Linked DNA regions of Homo sapiens: all the other regions are linked to region 2. Evidence: promoter capture Hi-C in human tissues and cell types (Jung and others, 2019). All regions are on one chromosome and are shown on one strand. Each heading gives the region's core, a stretch centred on a gene start or on the middle of the fragment in contact. The rest is flanking DNA. Distances are from core to core; before and after follow the strand shown. Region 1 holds the start of AGO1 (argonaute RISC component 1). Region 2 holds the start of COL8A2 (collagen type VIII alpha 2 chain). Region 3 overlaps AGO1 (argonaute RISC component 1). Region 4 overlaps AGO3 (argonaute RISC catalytic component 3).

Region 1 (5,643 bases), core at 522-3,021, 240 kb after region 2:
AGACAGACACACATCCCCATCACACACATCCAAACACACACTTAGACCTTGGCAATTTACACTTACACACATATCCTTCACTGCCCTAGACTGAGTTCTTCAAAGGCAGGGACTATATCTGCCTTGGTCACTGTTTAATTTCCAGTGTCTGACACACACACAGGAAGTATTCAACATACTGATATGAAATGAATGAACAAACATATCCATAGACACACCACAAAAACACACAAGCACACACAGCACACAGACACACGAACACCTGCAATTGCCCAGAAACAATTATAAACACTACACAAGACAAATATGCACGTTTGTGGGTGTAGCCAGTAAGAGACATCCTTTCCCTCCCCAAGTTCTTATATTTCATTCACCTTCTTCCCCTCCCAGACTGAATAATCATTTGGGGCCTTCGGAGAAAGATAACTCCTAGAGCTGGGGGGCTAGTTAGAAATGATGGGGGATGGGACAGACACTCTAGCCTCAAAGCCTTCTCTTCCCCAGAAACCCGACTACATACCACACATAGCCTTAGAGCACCTTCCTCTCCAAAGAGGCTTTGGGAAAACAGGGGAGCCCACACCCCCACTTCATCTCCAAACTAGGAAAGACAGCAGGAAGCAGGAACCTCTCTCCCATTACATCCCCCTGAAAGCCTAACAACAGCACTGTCTCCTCCCCGCCCCCCTTACCCCAGCTTTTAGTCTGAGAAAGGGAGACACTTCCCTACAGACCCAGACAGGGACAGACGGCCACTTTGTGATGCAGATGAGGGCCCCAGCACAGAGGACAAAGCTTGGGCCTAGGGGGAAAGGGGCGGGACCCTTCTCTTCAGACAAAAGCAAGGAGGGAGGGGCCCTGAAAAGGACACTCCCCCTCCCCCATCCCCAAGGAGCCCAGAGAAGGAAAAGTAACAGAGCTGAAAACCCTGGCTCAGGATTCCTTTCTTGCAGTTCTGAGGCCCACACACCTCCCAAGGAGCCAGACTGCCTATTCAAAAGACACAAATTCAAGGTTAGGTTAGGTTAGGTTAGCTGGTGGGCAAGCAAAGACTAACAAGCCAATCTCTCCAAAAAGGATCTGTTCCATGTGAGTATACACTTTATTAAATATCCACATACGTGCTTAACCATTTATGTTCACACTTGAATGTGATTTGATTTAATTAATAAACATGTATTCTGTGCCAGGGCCTATACACTAGGCACTTGCTAGTTCTACAAATAAACCAGACACTGCTTCTACCCTCAGGGAGCACCCAGTCCACTGTATGTGCTTGGAACACACCTGAGCACAGAAGGCAGACCTGGGCATAAGCCCAGTGAGGCTAGCAACAATGCTTTAGTTTTTGGGGGGTTTTTTGTTGTTGTTTTTTACACAACGCTTTAGTTTTGTGTATTATGTCCTCAGGCCACCTTGGGACACCACTCTAACTTCTTATAAGAGAACAGTCCGGGCCTAGGAAGGAGGCAGTTATGGGGTCCCTCAATTTGCAGCTTCCAGACTGAATCTCAATTATACCCTTTACTGAGGCAAAGCCTGTCCTATTCGGCTTTTCCCAAGGCTTTGGCTGACTCCAAACAGCAGGTTCTAGCTCCTTTCCTATAAGCTTATTTTTTGTAACAAATTTTTAAAAAGTCAATTTTTCATCACTCCAGAGCCTATTAGGAATTCATCAGGATAAAAATCATTAGTCTAGAATGGGTACCAGCAACCAGCAATCCATGTGGACCTCAATGACCTACCCCACTACTCTAGTTCATGGGTTGTTGGAAATAGTCCCCAGCCTTGAAAAACAGAAGTTCCTGGGATGGAGAGAGGGTCCTGACAGAGAGGAAGTACTCAAGTCAGTTGCTCCCTGTGCTTATCCTTACGACTACACAGTCTATACAAGGCTGGTTGTTAAGAGGGAAAACAGTCACTAAGTACTTAGAGATCACTAAATGGATAACTTGAGTGAGGTCGTAGGAGCTATTTCCTTGGGAGGGTGGGAGGGAGTTAGGTCTGCTACAAAAAAAACAAAATAATTCCACTAGGAAAGTAATGAAGTTCATGGCCTAAATGGAAATTTGATTCCCATCCCCAGACCAAATGTAAGGAAGTGGTGAGAGATGACCTGAAGGATTCCCAGGTCCAGGCTCCTCGTCCCATCACAGGGTAAGACACTTAAGACACAAGAGGTATCACCACCCCACAGCCCATCCTAAGGACTCCAGTTTTCTTGAGGCAATCCTGCCTCAGTTTATCCTCTGTTCCTATGTCTTTTCCTCCTCATTGCCTGCAAATAAGAAGTTAAGGCTATCACCTAGGCCTCACCAGGATGAAGGCTATAAACTCCCCCATCCTCCAACGTGTTTGTAGGGTTTAGATCTTGGCTCTAAAGACAGCCCTGACAGTTTCTGGGGAGTGGGGAGAGGAAAACGGAAAGATATCCAGTGGAAGATAGGAGCCATGAAAATATTAAGAAATATTAGAATAAATGTTATAAATGTAGAGTGTAACCTTAACAGACAATTCAATGGAAAATCTTTGGATTAAAAGCCCCCATCACTACTCAGTATTGGAGCAGAAACTTGCAAACCAAGCAGACAACTCCTTCCAGGTAGCCCCTGCCCTGTCCTTGATTCCTCCGTAACCAATACCTTTCCTAAGGCCTATCTTCAGGAGGACCCACCCCCAGAACCCATCGCTTCGGTCCCAGTCTTTCCTGTGGCAGAAAAATGCACTTTGGCAGCTTCCCTCAACCCATTCTTAGCAAACTGTGACTGAGGGCCAAGTGTAAGAGCCCCTAAAATGGGGGAGGGGACCATAACCATTTGCACACTGCCAGCATAACCTAAGAGAGAATGCACCCCATCAGCGCGCTCCTTTTTCCAAGCCAAACGGGGCGGGGCGGGGGGGTGTGGAGAGGTGGGGGTATTCGGACAGCCACGCCCCCACCACGTCGGGCAGCCCCTTCCAGCTGCCACCTCCGCGCATGCTCTGGAGCCTCCGCTCCGACTCCCCAGACCCACGGGGGGTAATCCCGGGACTGGGTCCCCACCCACCGCCCCCTGACCCTCGCCCTCGCGTCAGGCCCAGTGGGGCGGAGCTCACAGTCCAGCTCTGGCGCCTTCTCCCAAGAGACATTAGCCTATTCCAGCCCAGCGGAGCCCCCGCCCCCGGCATGCGGTAGCTCCAGGCCCATCTGTGTCGCCCCCTCCTCTCCTGGACACCTGGAGCCCGTCCCCTGCCACCTGCCGGGCCTCTCCGTAGGCCTCCACGGATGTCTGGGAGTCCTTCCGTGCGTGCAGGCCCTTCTCCCAGATTACTTCCAACCCGCAGGACTGTATACAGCCTCCTTGGACAAACAGCCCCCATCTCAGGGCTCTCTTCACATGGTTCTCCCCCGGAACTGCACACAGCCTCCTTCAAACTGGGCCCCCATCGTGGGAGAGCCCTTCTCCTCACTCAGGAGCGCTTCCATCACTTGGAAACCACGCTTTTCATGCGGGATCCCCCAGTCCTTGGAGCATGCACCGTTCCCCCTCCTGGGGACCCTTACCTGCTCCCGAGGGTCCCGCTTCCATCCCATATACCCGTGCGGAGGTCAGGCGGCCCGGAGACTGTGAAGTCCAGCGTGAGGGGCCTAGGTACCCCACACTCTCGCTGCTCGGGATCCCGGGCCGGGCTCGGCTCCCCTACCAAGCCCGGCCGCTCGCGCCGCCGCCCCCGCAGCCTCCGTTGCCGCCGCCGCGGAGCCTGCAGCAGCTCCCACTGCGAGCGCCCGGCCAGCTGCCAGTGCGCAGGCGCGACCGCCGGGCCCAGGGGGCGGACCGGAACGAGTCAAGCGGGGCGCTCCGACGGCAACAAAGGCCAATGGAGAGGGGCGGGGGCACCGGGGACCCAAGGCAGCGGCCCCTGGCGGTCACCCGTCGCCATGCAGCCCGGCGGGAGGGCGCCAGTAGAGGTGCCTTGGAACCGCGCAGTGGTATAAGTGGGGCAGGGCGAAGGGACATCCCGCCACAGCAGCCTTCAGCCCTGTGTCTTTTCCCCAAATAGGTCCCTCCAAACCTACACACAGCCCCCGCCTGTCGCACCGAGCTGCGCGCACACATTATGGGAACCCCACTTCATTCCCAGACCCCCTGGCACTCCAGCGCCCAGGGGCCCTGCCTCCCACCTCTCCTCCCAATCACCCTCATCCTTCAAGCCTTGGCTGCAAAGCGACTGCCTCCACGAAGTCTTTCTCCGTCCCTAGTCACTGAACTCACTGACGCCACCCCCTCTTCCACGCCATGTGCTGGACGCTGAGACCACAGATAAGTAGAGACGCGGCCTACCCTGGAAGATGTCACAGTTTGAACTTAAGTGCAGCTACAGAGCTCTATCCGCCGGACCTGGGAAGCACCTGCCTCCACTTTCTCATCTACAGTTCATGCCTGAACTGTCAATCAGCTTCTGCCCTCATCACGTCACTTAAATGACTTTTGGGGTTGACATCCAAAGGATACTTTTCAATTATTTCTCTGCAGCATCTGTCACTGTGCCTCTACTTCCCTTCTGAGCCTTCTACTTGGCTGCGGCATCTTCTGCAGTCTCCTATTGCCTAAGTCCTTTTCAGTCTTTCTAAAGGGCCCCTTTTGCTTTTGCCTCATTAACTGTTCACTGTGGTTCCAAACCCAGCTCTCTTCTCATTCCACTCTCCCCTTAAAGGTCTCATCCACTCTTACGGCCCAACTATCCTTCCAAATCTCTGTTTCCAACCATGTCTCATACTCACATTTCCAAGTGTTTGCTGGACAGCTCCACCTGGATATCCTACCAGCACTTCAAATTTAAGAAGTCCAAACCAAACACTTTATCTTTCACTCACAAACATACTTGCCCTGTGCTTCCTATCTCAGCGAACAGCACCTTCATGTCAGAAATGACAGTTCCTCTATCCCTTGTTCTTTCCATCTATTCAGCTGTTCACCACGTCTTGACATGTTTACCTTCTGAACTGCTCTCACATGATTCACTGCCATTCTGATGGTTTCTTATGCTGGTGCAGACCCTTATCATATCTTGCTAGACGTATCACAACCACTTCCTTGCTAGTCTCAAAGTTTCTGGGAACTCCCATTCTCCCTCCTATTCGGTCTGGTGCAGTGATAGGCGGGGTAAGAGACCCAGCTCAAACATCACTTTCCCATAAACTCACAAATTTTTGATGCCTGCTTTACACTAGATGCCATGCAGAGGCTGGGAACTTAAGGGATGGACCATAACCGGTCCTTACTCATGAGGAGATTAATTTCTGACACTTATACCATGCCTTGCTTCTAGAGGTTCTCAAACAGCAACCATCAGAATCACCTGGAAAGCTTGTTAAAACTTGGATTGGTGGCTGGGCGCAGTGGCTCACGCCTGTAATCCCAGCACTTTGGGAGGCCAAGGCGGGTGGATCACCTGAGGTCAGGAGTTCAAGACCAGCCTAGCCAACATAGTGAAGTCTCGTCTCTACTAAAAATACAAAAAATTAGCCAGGTGTTGTGGCAGACACCTGTAATCCCAGCTACTCAGGAGGCTAAGGCAGGAGAATAGCTTGAACCGGGGAGGGGGAGGTTGCAGTGAGCTGAGATCACGCCATTGTACTTCAGCCTGGGCAACAAGAGTGAA
Region 2 (5,952 bases), core at 748-3,247:
GAGGGCTCTGCTCTTTCCCACTGAAAATACACACACACACAGCCACACTCACCCCCACACACAGCCACCCACACCCCCCCACAGACACACAAACACACACACACACTCCCACCCACACTCACACAGCCACACACACCCACACCCACAAACACAGAGCCACACACACACTCCCATCCCCACACACAGCCACACACACACCCATACCCACAAACACACAGCGGCACCCACACACCCACACACACAGACACCCATACCCCCAAACACAGCCCCCCACACACACTCCCACTCACACCCCCCCACACAGCCACACACACAAAGCTACAATACACCCACACAGCCACACACACCCACACAAAGCCACATAGCCACATCCACACACCCAAATGCAGCCACACCCCCCACACCCCCCCACGCACATACCTCCCCACACGCACACAAATACACACCCCCACCCCTCCACACACCTACACACATGCTGACCCCCCACCCATGCGCGCACACACACACTTGCACACCCAAGCACACATACCTCCACATATGCCCACACCCACCTACACGCATGCACACACACACCCAGGCACGCACACACACACACATGCACACACACACACACACACCCACCTACACGTACACACACAGGCACGCGCACACACACATGCACGCACACACACGCCCACACCCACCTACATGCACACACAGACACCCACACTCACCTACATGCACACACGCACACAGACACACACACACACACACCCCAAAATCCTTTCCTGACCTCATCTCCCCTTCCCTCTGCACTTGCTGCCTCCTCCTTTCTCCCCTGCTGCCTGGCTACTGCCCCTACCCCCACCCCAACCTCCAACCCTTAATTGCTGTCCCTAAGAATGTCCTTCTGTGACAGCCCATCCCGTGGGCCTCCCTGGCCTTCTAGAAGCACTCTGCCTTTGCCTTCTGGGACACTGCTCTCCCGGTCCCTGCCATCTTCTCAGTCTCCTTTGCCGACCCCTCTCCCTGGGCAGCCCCGTGAATGCTGATGAGTGTCCTGCCCGCGCCCTGCCCGCCTCCCTGGGCCCGCTCCTTATTCTATGGCATCAGTCGCCATCTGCAAACCGTGGATTCCTCCTCGCTATCCCAGAACTCTCACCTCCCTTCCGGATCCATGGAAGTCCCACAGGCTCATCCAATTCATTACATCCGTCCTCCTTCTTCTCCTAGACCCTGCCGCCCCCAGGCCTAGCCCAAAGCCTGCGCACTGTCCTTGACACTGCTTCTTCCTAGGCCCCTCGCCCAAACTCTGCCTAGTTCGCCTCCTCACTCCCCTCACACTGGGCCCTCCCTTTCCTTCCCCCTCACTGTGCACCTCATGGGACCATGCCAGGGTATTCCCGCAGCCTCCTCGGTGGCCTGCCTCTATCTTCCTCCACACAGCTTCGGGAGGCTCTTTCCAAAGCACACATCTGACCACGTGACTGCCCTGCTCCAGAGCCTTCCGTGACTCCCCATTTCCGAGGGACGAGGTCTGGCCTGCTCCCGCCTGCCTCTGTGACCCCGGCTCAATGCCCTAAAGCCTGAATGTGCGGGTCACGACTGGCCCCTGTGAGTCCTCCGGGCTCAGCCTACCGAGGTCACGTCTGCAGGCAGCCTTCTGGGGACTCCTCACTGGGGGCCACCAGCCCGAGCTGCCCCTTCCCTGCAGGACCACGCCTGGCCGTCCTTCTCAGCAGCCGCGTCCGTCCCCACAGGCAGGTGGCCCCTCGAGGGCAGGGGCTGCGCGGACTCCCCGGCGGCCGAGCCGCGGGTCAGGTGGACGGGGAGGGATGGGGGCGGGCCGCCCGGGAGCGCGTGTGTGGAGGGGGCTCGGCGTGGGTGTCGGGGAGGGAGGCAGCCGTCCGAGTCCGCGCTGGGCGCGCTGGGCCGGGCGGGGCGCGGGCCTTGGCCGTGGCTGTGGAAAGAGGAGGGCGGAGGCCCCGCCCCGACGCGCCCCTCCTGCCGCCCGCCCACTCCGGCAGCCGCGAGGGGCGGCCGGCAGAGCGACGCGGAACCCCGCCGGCGCGGACCCCGGACCCCAACGCCGCCCGCCCAGCCGCGGACGCCCCTGCCCGGAGCCCTCGCCGCCCGGGCCGCCCTCGAGGGCCGGGAGCGGCGCCCGGCGGCCGCGCCCGCAGGTAAAGGCCAGGAGGCGGGCACCGGGGCTCGGGCTGGGGGGCTCCGAGGGCAAGACCTGGGCTGGGCTTCCCCCAACACCATGCGGGATAGCAGGGCCGGCGCCTCGGACTCCGGGGTGGGGACGCGGTGGGGGACTCGGGCCAGGGGGTCGCCTTAGAATGGGGGAGCCCATCCCGTTCCCTGTGCCCCGTTCCCTCCCCGGCAGGATCCCAGTAAAGCCCCCTCCTCCCTTCCTCTCCCAGAAGCGAGGGCTCCAGCATAAGACAGTGCCGGGTGCAACCCCCGACGATGTGGCTCTGGGCGCGTCACCACCTCCCGATCTCCCGTCCCACCTGTAAAGTGGGGATAAAAAAGCCGCCTTCACAGGGTAGTGGAGGAGAGAGGAGGGAGTGAGGGGCCTTAGCATCCCCCCGCTCTCACTCCTGCCCCCATCTCTCTGCCATTGCTGATTTGCTGGAGACCTTCCAGTTATAAGGTTTTTCTGCCTTAGCCCCCAGGTTCCTCCTATTCTAGGTGCCCTGTCAGTCCCCTCGCCCCAAACTGAAGACAAGTTCCCAGGAATGTTCCTGTCAGGGGCTCAGCATCCCCCCAGCTCCAGACTGAGACTTGCAGGGGGTGAGGGGCCGCTGCCTGGCCAAGAGGGACTGGGGTCCCAGGGCCCCAGAACAACCTCCCAGTGTCTCTGCCCTGGGTCTGGAGCCACCCTAGCCCCGGAAATCCTCCAGGTAGAGAAATGCTATTCAGCCAGAGGGCCCAGGAACGCTATTGCCACGGGGAAAACTTTGCTGGTTGTATGTGTGCACGCACGTGTGTGTGCCTGTGTGAGACCATGCTGGGTTCCTGACACAGACGTGCGGCTGACCTCCTTAGGGGTGCCGGAGCAACCAGAAATCATCCCTCCTGTCTGCTATCAGTACCTCTTGCTCAGGCTGGCAGCAGGGGCTCATCCACTCCTCTTAGCAGAGTCCCCTTGGCAAGGACAGCCTCCCAGCAGCTGTACTGGGCATTTGAAAAATCTGGGGGCCGTGGAGCTGGATGGCTGGAGGGTCAGGCAGCCTGGGGTTCCTCTCTGGGGACTGAGCTAAGATCGACTGATCCTTACTGCCCCAAGCAGAGGGGGCCGCAGGGCAGGAGTTGGTGATCTCTGGAGAGACACCATGGTTGGTGGTCTCCATCAGGGCACAGGTGCTGTCACTGGCTTCCCAGTGGACTGGTGAACACCTACAAACCCTTGGACACACAATGACCCTAGATGATAATGAGGAGAAACCACAGACATGCTCACCCAGCCACACACAGCCTTGCACCCTTCTGAGAGCCATGCACAGTCACACACCGACCCAAACATTCATTAGATTCATGCGGACACCCTCCTCTAATGAAACATACACCACCACAAGACACAGGCGGACACATGCACACACACCCAAACTCCTACAGACACATGGCAGGCCCCACGTGGCCCAGCCAGACATACTCAGACAGGACGGCACACACACACATACGCTCACACCCAGACACACTCACCAGGGTCTCTTTCTCTGGTTTCACTTCGTCTACCACAGTGAAAATGAGAATTTCCGCTCTTTGGCTCAGAGGAAGGGGAAAGAAAATATGGAAGTGAATGTGTCTGTTAGCAAGAGGGAGGAGAAAGATACTAAGCAGGGCTGTCAGCCTGAGCCCCTGTACTCCACTACCTTCTCTGCTCCTGCCTGAGCCGGAACAAAGGACGCACAGCCCCAGCTTCCTTGCCCTGCTGGCCCCCCAGCCCGCTCCAGAACTCTCAGTGGCAGGGATGGGGCACCTCTTACAGGGAAGTGGGGTCTCAGATGCGCTGGTCCCATCCGTGGCAGGAGGAAATTATAGTGTCGGGTCGGAGGAACGAGAGAGACACAGCGGCCTCTCCTCTGGGGTGTGGCTGTGGTCTCACGGTGCCCTACTAGGTACCCGAGGAGGGGCACCATGCAAGCCAAAGTGCAGATCAGGGAAGGTGGCACCTAAGAGGTAATCTGGCCAGGGCTTTCGAAGATGATAATTTTGACAGGTGCAGGGGGTGGAAAGGGTGAATGGGAGGGTGTTCCTGGCTGAGGGCACAGCTCGTGCAGAGGTGTGGAGGGGGAAGCTTCAGGGTTCTCTCAGGGACAGTGAGTAATGGGAGTAATGGGCACTGTTGGATCACACTGGGGAGTGGGAGGGACTCATGACTTTGAGGTCAGATTTCTAAGGGCCCTGTCTAGAGAAAGGGTGTGAGCTGCGAATGATATAATCTGGGAATCACTCTGGCTGCTCTGGGGAACAAGGATGAAGGGGGGATCTTCGAGGCAAGGGAGATCACAGAGGAGGCTGGGCAGAGTTTAAGGAGAAAGGTGACGGGGGATGAAGTGGGCGGTTGCCATGGGGATGAGAGGAAGAAGTAGATGGAAAGGAGTAAGCCGGTTGGCGATGGGGCCAGAAGCCTTGCACTGGATGGCTGTGGCCTGTCCCCAGAGAAGGCAGGTGCAGGGGAGATGTGGGTTTGGCGCTGGGGTCTGATAAGTTGAGATGACTGGGAGCTGGAGGCTGAGTGTAGCCTTGAAGCCTGGGTGGGTTTGCGAGGCCATATGTGGACACACATGTGCCCAAGTACCAGTCATGGAAGTCTGACTCCCAGAAAGAGAATTCCAGGCCCACTTTGTTCTGAGGGCATTTCCAGAGTGGGTGGAGTGTGGACAGCAGATCTTGAGTAAGGCAGCATGTGCTGTGTGGAGATGAGCTGGCATTGGGAGTCAGACAGATCTAGGACTTCCCAGCTCTGTGCCTCAGTTTCCCCATCTCTAAAATGGGAATGCTGTACTGGTCTCCAGAGTTGTTTTGCCTGCAGAGAGGTGAGGAGTAGTTCCAGGTCACACATGCAATGGGGGCACAGCACCTAGATCTTCCGATCAGTGTCCATTCCGCCTCTCTGGTTGGACCCTGGGAGTGGACTGGGGAGGACCTGGCCGTGCTTCTATTCAGATTCTTGGAAAGTTCTGAATTGGAGGCTGACTATCCCCATGCAGCCTGGATGGGCTGGGATTCCTGGCTTTTGAAGGGGAAGAAGAGGTCACATGTGGGGGTGGCGGAGGGCTAGTGCCTCATGGGGAGAGCCAGGTGGCACTGCTGGCCCAGCTCATGGATGGGGTTATGGAGACTCAGAGGGGAACTCACCTGAGGTCACACGGCAGCCAGAGGCAGAATCGAAACAGAGGCCAGGATCCCAGGCCCAGGTGCCCTTCCTCACAAAGGCTGCCCTCCCTCAAAGGACATGGAGCAGAGGGAACCTTACTGGGTTTTGTGATTTCTTTCTTTCTTTTTTTTTTAATTTTTTTTGAGACAGAGTCTGGCTCTTGTCACCCAGGCTGGAGTGCAGTGGCACGATCTTGGCTCACTGCAACCTCCACCTCCCAGGTTGAAAGATTCTCCTACCTCAGCCTCCCAAGTACCTGGGATTATAGGCGTCCACCACCATGCCCGGCTAATTTTTTGTATTTTTAGTAGAGATGGGGCCAGGCTGCTCTTGCACACCTGACCTCAGGTGATCCGCCCGCCTTGGCCTCCCAAAGTGCTGTGATTACAGGGGTGAGCCACTGTGCCTGGCCAATAAGAAGGAATTAGAACAGCAACTTTTTTTTTTTTTTTTTTTTTTTTTGAGACAGAGTCTGGCTCTGTCGCCCAGGCTGGAGTGTAGTGGCATGGTCTCGGCTCACTGCAACCTCCGCCTCCCAGGTTCAAGCCATTCTTCTGCTTCAGACTCCTGAGTAGCTGGGACTA
Region 3 (5,385 bases), core at 2,522-5,021, 200 kb after region 2:
TGCTTGCTTCAGAAGGAACTGTACATTACAGCTGCTGGGATAATTTCACAATGGACTGGACAAGGTACAGCTCAAAGCAGGACACAAACACAAATCTCAAAGGGAAACAAATGCAAACAAGTACACAGCTGTGGGGATCCAGAGACATTTCCCCATCCATGCTGGACTTGAGAGGGATAAAAAGTTTAGAAACTAAAGTGAAAACCAGAGTAGTCACACATGCCCACCACATGGCTGCTAAGTGCAACATCACATACCAATTAGGCTGGACTGTGTGCACAGGAAAGTAATTTCATTTTTCCTTATTGCTACTACACCAAGGGACTCAGTGCATTCAACAAATGTCTTTACTTGCACAATTCTTGGAGGGTTTCCTATTTTCCTCTGTAAAGAAGAAAATCTCCCTTTCCCACCTCATTCTGTTTTGTTTTTAGCTCATTCCTTCCCCTCCCTTTCTTGGATGCCCAAACAGCAGCCAGAGGCTCTAAGTCAGTATGAGTAGAGTAAGGGAGAGCACCAACCCAGCCTCTCTCCCTGCCCAGGGAGAAGGCAAGTCCTATTAAGTCGGAGGAAAGCGAAAACCAGAAAATACCTCCTTCCCAATCTGCTTAGAAGGCCAAATAGTAAAAAGTGCCCTGCATATCCCTGCCATGATCAGATTTTAAGAAGGAAGGTATTCCAGCTACCATCCTGGATTGGCCTAGGCCCCATATATAAATAAAAATAACGTCCCCCAATGTAGTTTCCAAAACTGCCTTTTGGCTAGTTTGAGATGATTTTTCTACCCTGATGGGGAAGAAACGTCCAACCTTGTTAGTTACACATGATTCCAGGTCCAAAACTGTCCCACCAGCCTTACAGATATCCTATGGGCCAGCTAATAGTCAGTGCACCCTTGGCTGCCCATCTTGAGTGCTGGCCTTATTCACAAACAGAAAAAAAAAGTATCCAAAAACACTGCTGCTTAGCTAAATAGGAGGCCACAGAGAAGCTATCTAGCAGGTGGGCATTAGGAGCTTTTTAGGGAAGTTTCAAATTTCTAGGTACCTTCTTCGGCTTTATGTTAAGCCTAAGTTCCCAGCAACAGTAGCCCCAGGCTTATCCCTGGAGGCCAGTGTAGCACCTCGATCCCTAATGGATCAGGTTGGACTGGATAAACAATCAAAGAACAGTGCTCTCCTTTCCCACCTTTTATTCAAATTCTCTCCATTCTCTTCTCATCACTCTTTTTCCTTTATGTCCATCCCCTAACACTCAAACCCAGGATACCCAAATAGCTCAACCCTAAGACAATCTCAGAAAAGCCAGGCCCCAGGTAAAGAGAAAAAGAACCAGATTTAGAAAAAGCAATGAGAGAAACCAGCTCCAAGGAGTGGACAGGTGTGGAAAATGCCAGAAACCCTCCTGACTTCACACAAGTTGGGCAGGTCAGTTGCTCTTCTCTAGTATAAGCTTGAGGGCAGTCCAGCCCAGGTGGACATCTCTGGGCTTGGGGAACAGGTTCTTGGTCTTCTGCAGTCAAGGAGCTAAGCCTGACCCTGCCAGCTAACAGTGGGATCATTGCAGCCATGCAGAGATTTCATCATCACATAGGCAGACAGGCAGGCAGGCAGGCAGGCAGGCAGGCAGGCCGGCCAGCAAGCAAGCAGAGTGAATAGAAGAAAAGGGAAAGGAAGCCAGGCAAAGAGAGAAGAGGAAAAGGAAGGCAAAACAGTGGTACAAAGGGAACAAGAGACCCAACTAAGAGGATGAGGCTGGGGGTCCCCCAAGCACTTCCTTGAAGCTTGGGTAAGAAGCACCACTTAAACCAAATCCACATGAGCCAAAGCTTGCTGCCAACACCACTTCTCCATCTGCATGCACCACCTTTCAAACAGGAATAATCTCAAGGTCGGGGTATTTTTCAAGTCTCAAAAATTATCTTTTTACAAAAAAATCAGAGTAAGAACTCATTTCTTGTCATTGCCCAAAGCTGATTCTCTTGCTTTTTATTTCTTGAATGGCATAAGCCACGTCAAAGGGCTAAAAATGCATTTCAAGCCCCAGCTGAAAACCAACTGGAGAGAGTGAGGCAAAGAGAGAAAAGGAGAGAACACAAACTTGTTGCTGGGAGTAGAGGCTGCCACCTGCTCCCTATGGACATTTGCAAATGCTGGTGAATGACTGGACCCTCCAGGAATAGTGCCCTGATCCTAGCCCCAAAATGTATCCAAGTGGAGAACATGCAGAGCCCACTGTCCCAGGAGAACTCCCCTCCCCAAAGGGTGACAGAACACGAAGTAGACTGTATATGAAGGCAATGGACAGGGCAGATGGAGTGTTAGCATCACTCTCTTTAGGCACTTGTGTAAGGAATGTAGGCTCTCCAGTGAGCTGCCTCCTCCCAGAGCCCTCCATTCTGTTCTTCAGCTGGGCTTGTGCCTATAGGGCACCCCATGCTGTAGCCAGCAGGAAAAAAGTAAAGGAGGAGTTACTCAACAGTCCTGATGCTTTCTCCATAATGAATGTTTGTGCTACGTTTTGTGAGTTGCTGAACAATGTAGCCAACCAGAACAGAACCTGGGATAGATTGTTTTGCATAGCAAATCCGGGTCATACAAGGGCAGCTAAGGGGAGGAAATGGTAGTTCTAACTCTACAGGCCAGGATTTAGACCCTTCTTCCTCCAGCTGGCCTCCAAGCCTGGGCTAGGTCTAAAGTAATCATGGCTTCATCACCAGATCAGGATAGATCCAAGCCCAGGCTCCTCAAAGAGGAAATTCCACACTGAAGTTGCAACTCCCCATCCCAAGCAGTGGGGCAGGAAAAAAATGAACAGTCAAGGAAAAAGGGCAGGGGGGATGCTTGCTTCAAGGCCAACAGAGACCAAGCTAGAACCACCACCTTCTCCAGTCCTGCAAGACAGCCAAACCCCATGTCTCAAGACAAAAAAAAAAAAAAAAAAAAGTCCATGCCACCCACCCACATGCCCTAGTGGGAAACCAGGAAAAATTCATTTTTGTAAACAGAAGCAATAGGGAGCAGCAAAATTCCCCAGCCTGTCCACAGGACACACTGCAATCTAGGATGAGCCAAAGGGTCAGAGGACAGTCCAGGGGAAGGAAAAAGATGCACTTGCAAGAAAGAGTGCAGGACAGTGCAGAGGAGGGAGGCTATAGCAAGAAAAAGGTATTATCTGCACAGAGGAAGGATGGAGCCTGGACCCCATCTTGGGGCGATAACCACCCCCTCCCTACCTAGCCAGGTCAGAGAACAAATCAGGTACACAGTTCATTCTGATGGCTCAATGTTTCTGGGATATAAACTCATCAGGCATGGGAAGGATTTCCAAATTTTGGCAATACACTCAAGTTATGGTATAAAAATAACATTTTGTTTTCTCTCTTTTTTCTCATTTTAGACCTAAGAGTTTTTTGTTATAAGACACCCCAGTTAAGAAATATTGAAACATAAGAGACTTGACCATCAAGGGAGAAAAGAAGCCAAGAGTGAAAAATGCTATGAAAGTAACTCCAGACCTGGGCGGGGCGGGAGGTAGGAGGAATAAGGAGAAAAGGAGGCATAAGTGGAAAGGCCAGGGGCCTGTCATCTCAGCAGCTCCGAGACTTGTCATGTTTGAAAGTGCAAATGTCAATGGATTTTAACCATCTTGAGGTTGTGATCTTTTAAAAAGCTCAATGAATGAGGAAGTCAATTCCTTCAAATGCAAAATAGCTGGCTTTCTGGCTGGAGGTTTGTTGGGTCTGGGGTATTTCTTCCCCATCTACCTCCTCTCCCACCCCCACCCCATTCCCCAAAGAAAGGTACAAAAGGTTGCAGTTCTGCAGCATTACCGTTACAGGGAAGGCACTGGTTACCCACCAGCGGGCGGAAGGAAGACAGGGTCGTGTCACTTCAAAGCTAAGTGCCATAGTGCCTTAAGTATTACTAGGGGCTGGATGTCTGTCAGGGAGGAGAAGTAAGGTGGGGCAGAAAATGTGGACAGAGAGGAATAAGGGTAAGGTGGGGGGTGGCAGCTGGGGGAGGAGCAACCAAAACCATTAAAAAATCTTCCTACAAACTGGATTCTGAACCCATTAAAACATCTAGTATCCTAAAATATTGATCTGGGTCTGGTTTCATTTTTCTTCTTAAACAAATCTAGTCCTTTTCTGATTAAGGCTCCTAAAAAATCCTTCCCTCCTCCCACCCACTTTCTCAAGCCCCTCACTTTCCCATCTAAAGTATCAAACCCAAACCTAACCAGCTTTTGTCTGCAGGGCTACAGAGTTGACCTTACCAAGCTGTCAAGCATGAGTCTTTAGCACTGTGAGTCACATGAGACACCTGTGTGTATGGTGGGCACCAGTGCTGCCCCTTTTGGTCCAGTGGGGTCAGGGCCAGATGTGACAAGATGGGGTGAGGGGTGGGGGACATGAGGTTGATATCAGAGATTTCTGGCTGGTGGTCTGTCTTGCTGGCCCTGTTCCCCACTCTTACACCACCTCTATAGAAGGAAACAAGGCATCCTACACTCCTCCCTACCCCACCTCCCTCCTCCTTGCTTCCTCTGGATTTGGGTGGCACAGCTCCTGGGGCTTGGAAAGCTTTCTTCTATCCAGTGAGGTAACAGCGTTCTGCCTTCAAGCGAAGTACATGGTGCGCAGAGTATCCTGGTGAACCTGCACGGCTTTGGCCAGGGCCTGGGGGTCCCGCCCATTGCTCTGCCCCGATATGTGGCTCCCCTCTCCACTGAAAAGGAAAAAATGAAAGAAGTCCTTCCTGGTGAACTGAGAGCTGCTGCTAATTCCCTCGCCCAGCCCTGGGATGCCAATTCCCATACCAACTTAAGAGAGAAACCCAACCCAGGATTGGGCAGACGAGCCCAATGACACCAAATTGGACAGCACTCATTTCCTTCTACCCAAGGAAAGTTAAGAAGATCTGGCACAATAGGCTGAAGCAAAAAGGAGGCCAACCTGATCCCAGGCCTCACCTGTCATGCTCCTTGTCCACCAGGTGGTATCGTGCCCGGAAAGCCACCAGGCGGGCATAGTAGGCAGGTGCTGGGATAGAGACAGAGCGTGTGCATCGTACGTAAGTGTGGCACAGCTGGTACGTCAGGATCTGGAGCTCATCTGCTGTGAAACGGTTGTCATCCCAAAGAACATAGTAATGGGATGGTCGGCTGGTGCCCTGGGAAGATAGGAAGGTGAGGGGTCCCAGGCTGGGCAGAGAAGATGGCTGATAATAGGGGAACAGGATCACTGTTAAGAATATGGCTGGGTAGATAATTCACCCATGAACAGGCAGATGCAAAACTACCAATGTCATAAAGCACTCTTCTTATAAGCAACCTGCAAGTGTACTCAGGGCTTATTACGACAGCAGTCCTGGCCGGGCACAG
Region 4 (5,568 bases), core at 3,010-5,509, 150 kb after region 2:
GTGTGAGCCAACAATTCCACATCTAGCCAAACAGTCCTTCAGGAATAAGGCTACAGATAACTCAGGCCTTATTCATATGAGCATTTCTTGAAGAAACAACTTGAGGACAAACTGAAACCAACAAATGACCAGAAAAATTTCAGCAAAAGGACTGGCAGTGAGCAACAATACATTTAATTGCAGATTTAAGATTGAAAACAAATGGAATGAAACTGTTACATGGTCTAAGAATGTAGGAATTCAAATCAATGAATATATACAAATGGATGTTAAGAGTAGAATATATGAAAAGTAGAATAAGCTCAATGACTGCACCTCATGTGCAACAGGTAGGAGTCAAAGTTGAAAGTCAATCAGTAAAAACTTAAGCAACATGACAGAATAAAATTATAAAGAGCAATAAAATAATACTATATTGGCTAAAACTAGTAGAAAGAAGGGAAGAGAATAAAGCTAATGTAATTGTTACTCAATTAAGGGAAACAAAAGACTGCTTTAAAACAGAGGAAGATAGGTATCATATGAAGGTATAAGTATAAAGATAACCACTGGGGGGAAAAATCTTCCTAAGATGAGGACTACCATTTAAAAAGCACAGAAAACACAACACTCAAAGTTTCAAAATATATACAAATGTAAAAAATGGCATAAAATAATTTTACAAAACCATGACCAATGGTTGTGACTTGACAGAAAGATATGTCCTTCCTATCTATATCTGGCTTAATTCATCCACCAAACAGAAAAAAAGCTTTAAACTGACCCACAAAGCAAACCATTCTATGCTGTCATCAAGATATACCTGAAAAAAAAAGTTAAAGGATAGGATAAAGTTCACAAAAGCATGAAGTGCAATCTTTTTATTAGATAATGTAGAATTTTGGTCAAAAAGTACAAAAAGAAAGTCACTTATATAAAGGTTATAATTCATAACGAAAACAGATATGAATATATATGCTCCTAATACAGTAGCAACATTCAGAAAATGGAAATTACAGGAGATAAAAGAAGAAACAGAAAGATATTAATAATAGGAAATTTATTTATCCTAGTCTGAGAGAACAAAAAACAAAACTAAGGAAATAAATGACATAAGCAACATAATCAAACTGGTAGCTCTGATGGATATTTCACTCTAAACTAATATATGAATATATCTTATTTTCATATAGCCATAGAACTATCACAAAAATTGACCGTATATTGGGCTACAAAAAATACCTCTAGAAACTCTAAAAGGAAAAATACAAACCACATTTTTTTTTTTCTGAGAAGGAGTCTCATTCTGTCCCAAGGCTGGGGTGCAGCGGCGCGATCTCGGCTCACTGCAAGCTCCGCCTCCTGGGTTCACGCCATTCTCCTGCCTCAGCCTCCCAAGTAGCTGGGACTACAGATGCCCGCCACCACGCCCGGCTAATTTTTTGTATTTTTAGTAGAGATGGGGTTTCACCGTGTTAGCCAGGATGGTCTCAATCTCCTGACCTCGTGATCCGCCCGCCTCGGCCTCCCAAAGTGCTGGGATTACAGGCATGAGCCACCGCGCCCAGCCACAAACAACATTTTTTAACAACACAATGAAACTAGAAATTCACAACAAATCCAGAAAACAAAAAGATCTTCAATCTGAAAATTTGAAAAGTCTCTCAAACAATATTTCAAGCACAGAGGAAATACAAATGAAATTTGTGGAGTTTCTAGAAAATAATATTATGTATTTCTAGTTTCTAGAATATAATAAAAATACTACATATTAGAAGCTTTGTAATACGGCTAAAACAGTGATCACCAGAAAAATAATTGTTTTAAATATTTCCACCAACAAAATGAAAGTACATGTTACTAATCTAGCTAAAATAGATAGAAAAATAACTTTTAAGAATAATTCCCATTGTCAGCAAGGCCTTACTTTCCTCAACATCAGTATTGTGTCCTAATAACAGACCAGAAAACTGAGCCTCCAGAATCCCCAGGAAGCTGCTCTATCCTCAAAGAATAGTAAGACTGTTGTAACTTGCTCTGTCTGTAAACACACTTCAGGAAGGAAGAGGAAGTTGGCAGATATATTTTCAAATGATCTTCAACACAATTCTTGAGAGTTTTCTAGTGAGTTTAACGTTAATAAAAAAAAAAATTGTTTTCAGGCCAGATGCGGTGGCTCACGCCTGTAATCCCAGCACTTGGGAAGGCGGAGGGAGGCGGATCACCTGAGGTCAGGAGTTCGAGACCAGCCTGACCAACATGGTGAAACCCCATCTCTACTAAAAATACAAAAAAATTAGCTGGGTGTCGTGGCATGCACCTGTAATCCCAGCTACTTGGGAGGCTGAGGCAGGACAATCGCTTGAACCAGGGAGGCGGAGGTTGCAGTGAGTCGAGATCGAGCCACTACACTCCAGCCTGGGTGACAAGAGCAAAACTCAAAAAAAATTGTGTCAAGAAATTTGGGTACCTTACATCTCTAGAAAGAGTTCATCAAGATTTTATTTCATTGATTCAAGTATTTAAGTTTAAGTACTAAATATACACCTGAGCTAGAATAATAGAAAATATTCTTTATTATAGGTTTCAGTAATTCATTAATTGGGAAGACTATGTTACCAAAAAAGAAGTCAGGGCATAGGAAAAAAGGTTAAGGATTAAACTACTTAATTAAACAATCAGCATTCATTAACTATACTTTGTTCTTAATCAGAAAGCACTCAATAAATACATTTTGTTTTCTAAAATAAATATTTATGATGCCATACCGTCTTTTTTTTAGTTTTTTGATAAGAAGTAATAGATGCTTATTGTTGAAAGCTTGAAAAAGATGGAGAAAAATAAATACCACTGAATTTCACTACCTGAAAAAAAAGTAAAAAGAACAAAGCATACATATGCAAAATAACAGACTGGGAAAACCACAAAAATACACAGAATTTCAAAAACTAATAGAAACTAGCTGGGCACGGTGGCACATGCCTGTAATCCCAGCACTTTGGGAGGCCAAGGCAGGCAGATCTCTTGAGACCAGGAGTTTGAGACCAGCCTGGGCAACATGGTGAAATCTTGTCTCTACAAAAAATACAAAAATTAGCCAGGTGTGGTAACATGTGTCTGTAGTCCCAGCTGCTCAGGAGGCTGTAGTGGGAAGATCGCTTGACCCTGGGAGGTGGAGGTTGCAGTGAGCCAAGATTACACCACTGCACTCCAGCCTGGGTGACAGAGCAAGACCCTGTCTCAAAAAAAAAAAAAAAAAAATCATAATAACGATAGAAACTACTTTGTAAAACTCTGTATAATTAAATTACATATGAATAAAATAATTTTCCAGTAAAATGTGAGCTACCAAAAGTGAACCTAAACAGCCTGAACAGACTTTTTTTTTTAATTAAAAAAAAATTTTTATGGGTACATACTAGATGTATATATCTATGGGTTACACGAGCTTTTGATACAAGCATATAATGCATAATAATCAGATCAGGGTAAATGGGGTATCCATTACCTCAAGCATTTATCCTTTCTTTATGTTACCAACAATCCAATTATATTTTTAGTTATTTTTAATTGTACGATAAATTATTAGACTGATTTTCACAAAATAAATGAGGGAAGTTTTAAAACAGCTACCTAGCAAACCAAACCAAACCAAACAAAAAACGGCAGGTCACAAGGTTTTATAGGGGAATTCTACGAAATCATACAAGAGCTGATAATATCAATACTATTTTAAAACTGTTATACATTTTAGAAAATGGAAAACTTCTGAATTTTTTAGGAAATAATACCAAAACTTGACAAAGATTGTACAAAAAAGGAAGGCTGCAGATTAATATGACTTCTGCATGTTAATTTATAAAAGGAAAGTATTAGCAAACAGAATCCAGCATCAATTAAAAGAATCTAGGAGTCCTGGTTTGGTTCAATGTTTGTTAAAAATAAGAGAAATATCACATCATCAGCTCCATAGATGCTGAAAAGGCATCTGACAAAATTTAACACATACTCTTGATAAACGTACTTAATAAGAAACAGATATTCCTTAATATGACAATGTATACATACAATGCTTAATGCTTCTAGAGCAAGAAAGAAAAAGGACGCACATTAATCACTACTATTTAATCCTACCCTGTCTAATTAGTCTATATAATCTGATAAAAAAAATTAGAGGTATAAAAATCCAAAGGAAGAGGTAAACTTATCACTAGTTGCAGGTGATGATTATAACCTAGAAACCCCAATAAAATCGCTTGAAAAAATACCACAAACAATAATGGAATTCAATAACACAGAAAGAGAGAAAGTATACAGAAATCAAAAGCCTGAATATATATAAGCAATTACCAGTTAGTATCTATAAACCCATTTAATAGCAACAAAAAGGAGAAAATATCCTGGAATAACAAGAAATGGCCTGGGTGCAGTGGCTCACGCCTGTAATCCCAGCACTCTGGGAGGCTGAGGTGGGTGGACCACCTGAAATCAGGAGTTCGAGACCAGCCTGACCAACATGGTGAAACCCCATCTCTACTAAAAATACAAAATTAGCTGGGTGTGGTGGTGCATGCCTGTAATCACAGTTGCTTGGGAGGCTGAGGCATGAGAATTGCTTGAACCTGGGAGGCGGAGGTTGCTGTGAGCCGAGATCACTCCATTGTACTCCAGAGCGAAACTCTGTCTCAAAAAAAAGAAAGAAAAAAGAAAAGAAAGAAAGAAAAAAAAAAAGAAATGTGCAAAATTTATGTGAAGCTTTAAGATCTCTTGAAAATGAAAGTAATCTTAAACAAATAGAAAGACATAGTATATTCTTTGACAGAAAAGACAACACCTTAAATATGCCAATTTGTCCTAACTTAATTTATAAATCTAATAGGATCTCAATAAAAATAACAATCTGTCCTCTCCCACTCACTGGATCTAAACAAGGAATTTCTAAAGCTTATACATAAGAATGGTCTGGAAAACCCTGAAAAGAGAAAAATGGGACTAGTCCTATCAGATATTAAAAGTCATAAAAGAAATGACTGACCAATACATATGTATGTGTGCACACACCAACATACAAACAAACTTCTGCATGGCAAAAACAAAAACAACAACAAAAAAAACATCACAATACCAAAGGTCAAAAGACAAATAGCAACCTAGGTAAAATATCTGCAACTCATGACAGATGAACAGCTAACTTCCTTAATTTAGAAAGCATTCTCAGTAAATAAGAAGACGAAAAATCCAATAGAAAAAAAAGGGCAAAAGATATAAACTAACAGTTCATTAAAAAAGAAACACAAGTGGCCCTTATATTTGTGAAAAGGTAGTCAAATACAAATTAAGAAGACACAAGAAAACTGTTTCTTGCAAATCTGATTGAAGAAAATCTAAGAGTTTGATGATTCTAGTGGCAAAGATATAAGGAAACTGGTACTCTCATTCATTGATGCAAAATATTTACTATCTCTATGGAGTGCAATCTGGCAACAATGATACAAATTACAAATATTAATACATTTGCCCTTAACTCATCAGTCTAACCGCCAGGAATGTATCTTACAGACTTATCTTAATATACATAAAATGATGTAA

What was found. Contacts are between HindIII fragments. The study calls those that stand out against the background at their distance.
Region 1: a fragment that was not itself captured here is called in contact with the fragment with the promoter of COL8A2 in region 2 in 2 of the 25 tissues and cell types used here (lymphoblastoid cells and spleen).
Region 3: a contact is called between a fragment that was not itself captured here and the fragment with the promoter of COL8A2 in region 2, in 1 of the 25 tissues and cell types used here (adrenal gland).
Region 4: a fragment that was not itself captured here is called in contact with the fragment with the promoter of COL8A2 in region 2 in 3 of the 25 tissues and cell types used here (adrenal gland, dorsolateral prefrontal cortex and spleen).

What each region holds. Positions count from the first base shown.
Region 1 is chr1:35,881,348-35,886,990 of GRCh38, reverse strand. It overlaps AGO1 (argonaute RISC component 1), which reads right to left and starts at 3,782. Exons shown (of 19, transcript NM_012199.5): 1 at 3,545-3,782. The coding sequence starts at 3,569. RefSeq lists an enhancer at 570-1,209 and a silencer at 3,560-4,019. The HindIII fragment of the contact is 3,416 bases long and covers 64-3,479 here.
Region 2 is chr1:36,121,267-36,127,218 of GRCh38, reverse strand. It overlaps COL8A2 (collagen type VIII alpha 2 chain), which reads left to right and starts at 1,997. Exons shown (of 4, transcript NM_005202.4): 1 at 1,997-2,162. RefSeq lists a silencer at 4,485-4,685. The HindIII fragment of the contact is 15,339 bases long and covers 1-5,952 here.
Region 3 is chr1:35,918,844-35,924,228 of GRCh38, reverse strand. AGO1 (argonaute RISC component 1) reads right to left here. Exons shown (of 19, transcript NM_012199.5): 18 at 4,975-5,174; 19 at 1-4,730. The coding sequence ends at 4,622. Among named protein-coding and RNA genes, the nearest start is that of AGO3, 9.6 kb to the left of the region's middle. The HindIII fragment of the contact is 4,306 bases long and covers 1,619-5,385 here.
Region 4 is chr1:35,975,064-35,980,631 of GRCh38, reverse strand. The region is part of intron 5 of AGO3 (argonaute RISC catalytic component 3); the gene reads right to left. Among named protein-coding and RNA genes, the nearest start is that of AGO3, 47 kb to the right of the region's middle. The HindIII fragment of the contact is 3,961 bases long and covers 2,279-5,568 here.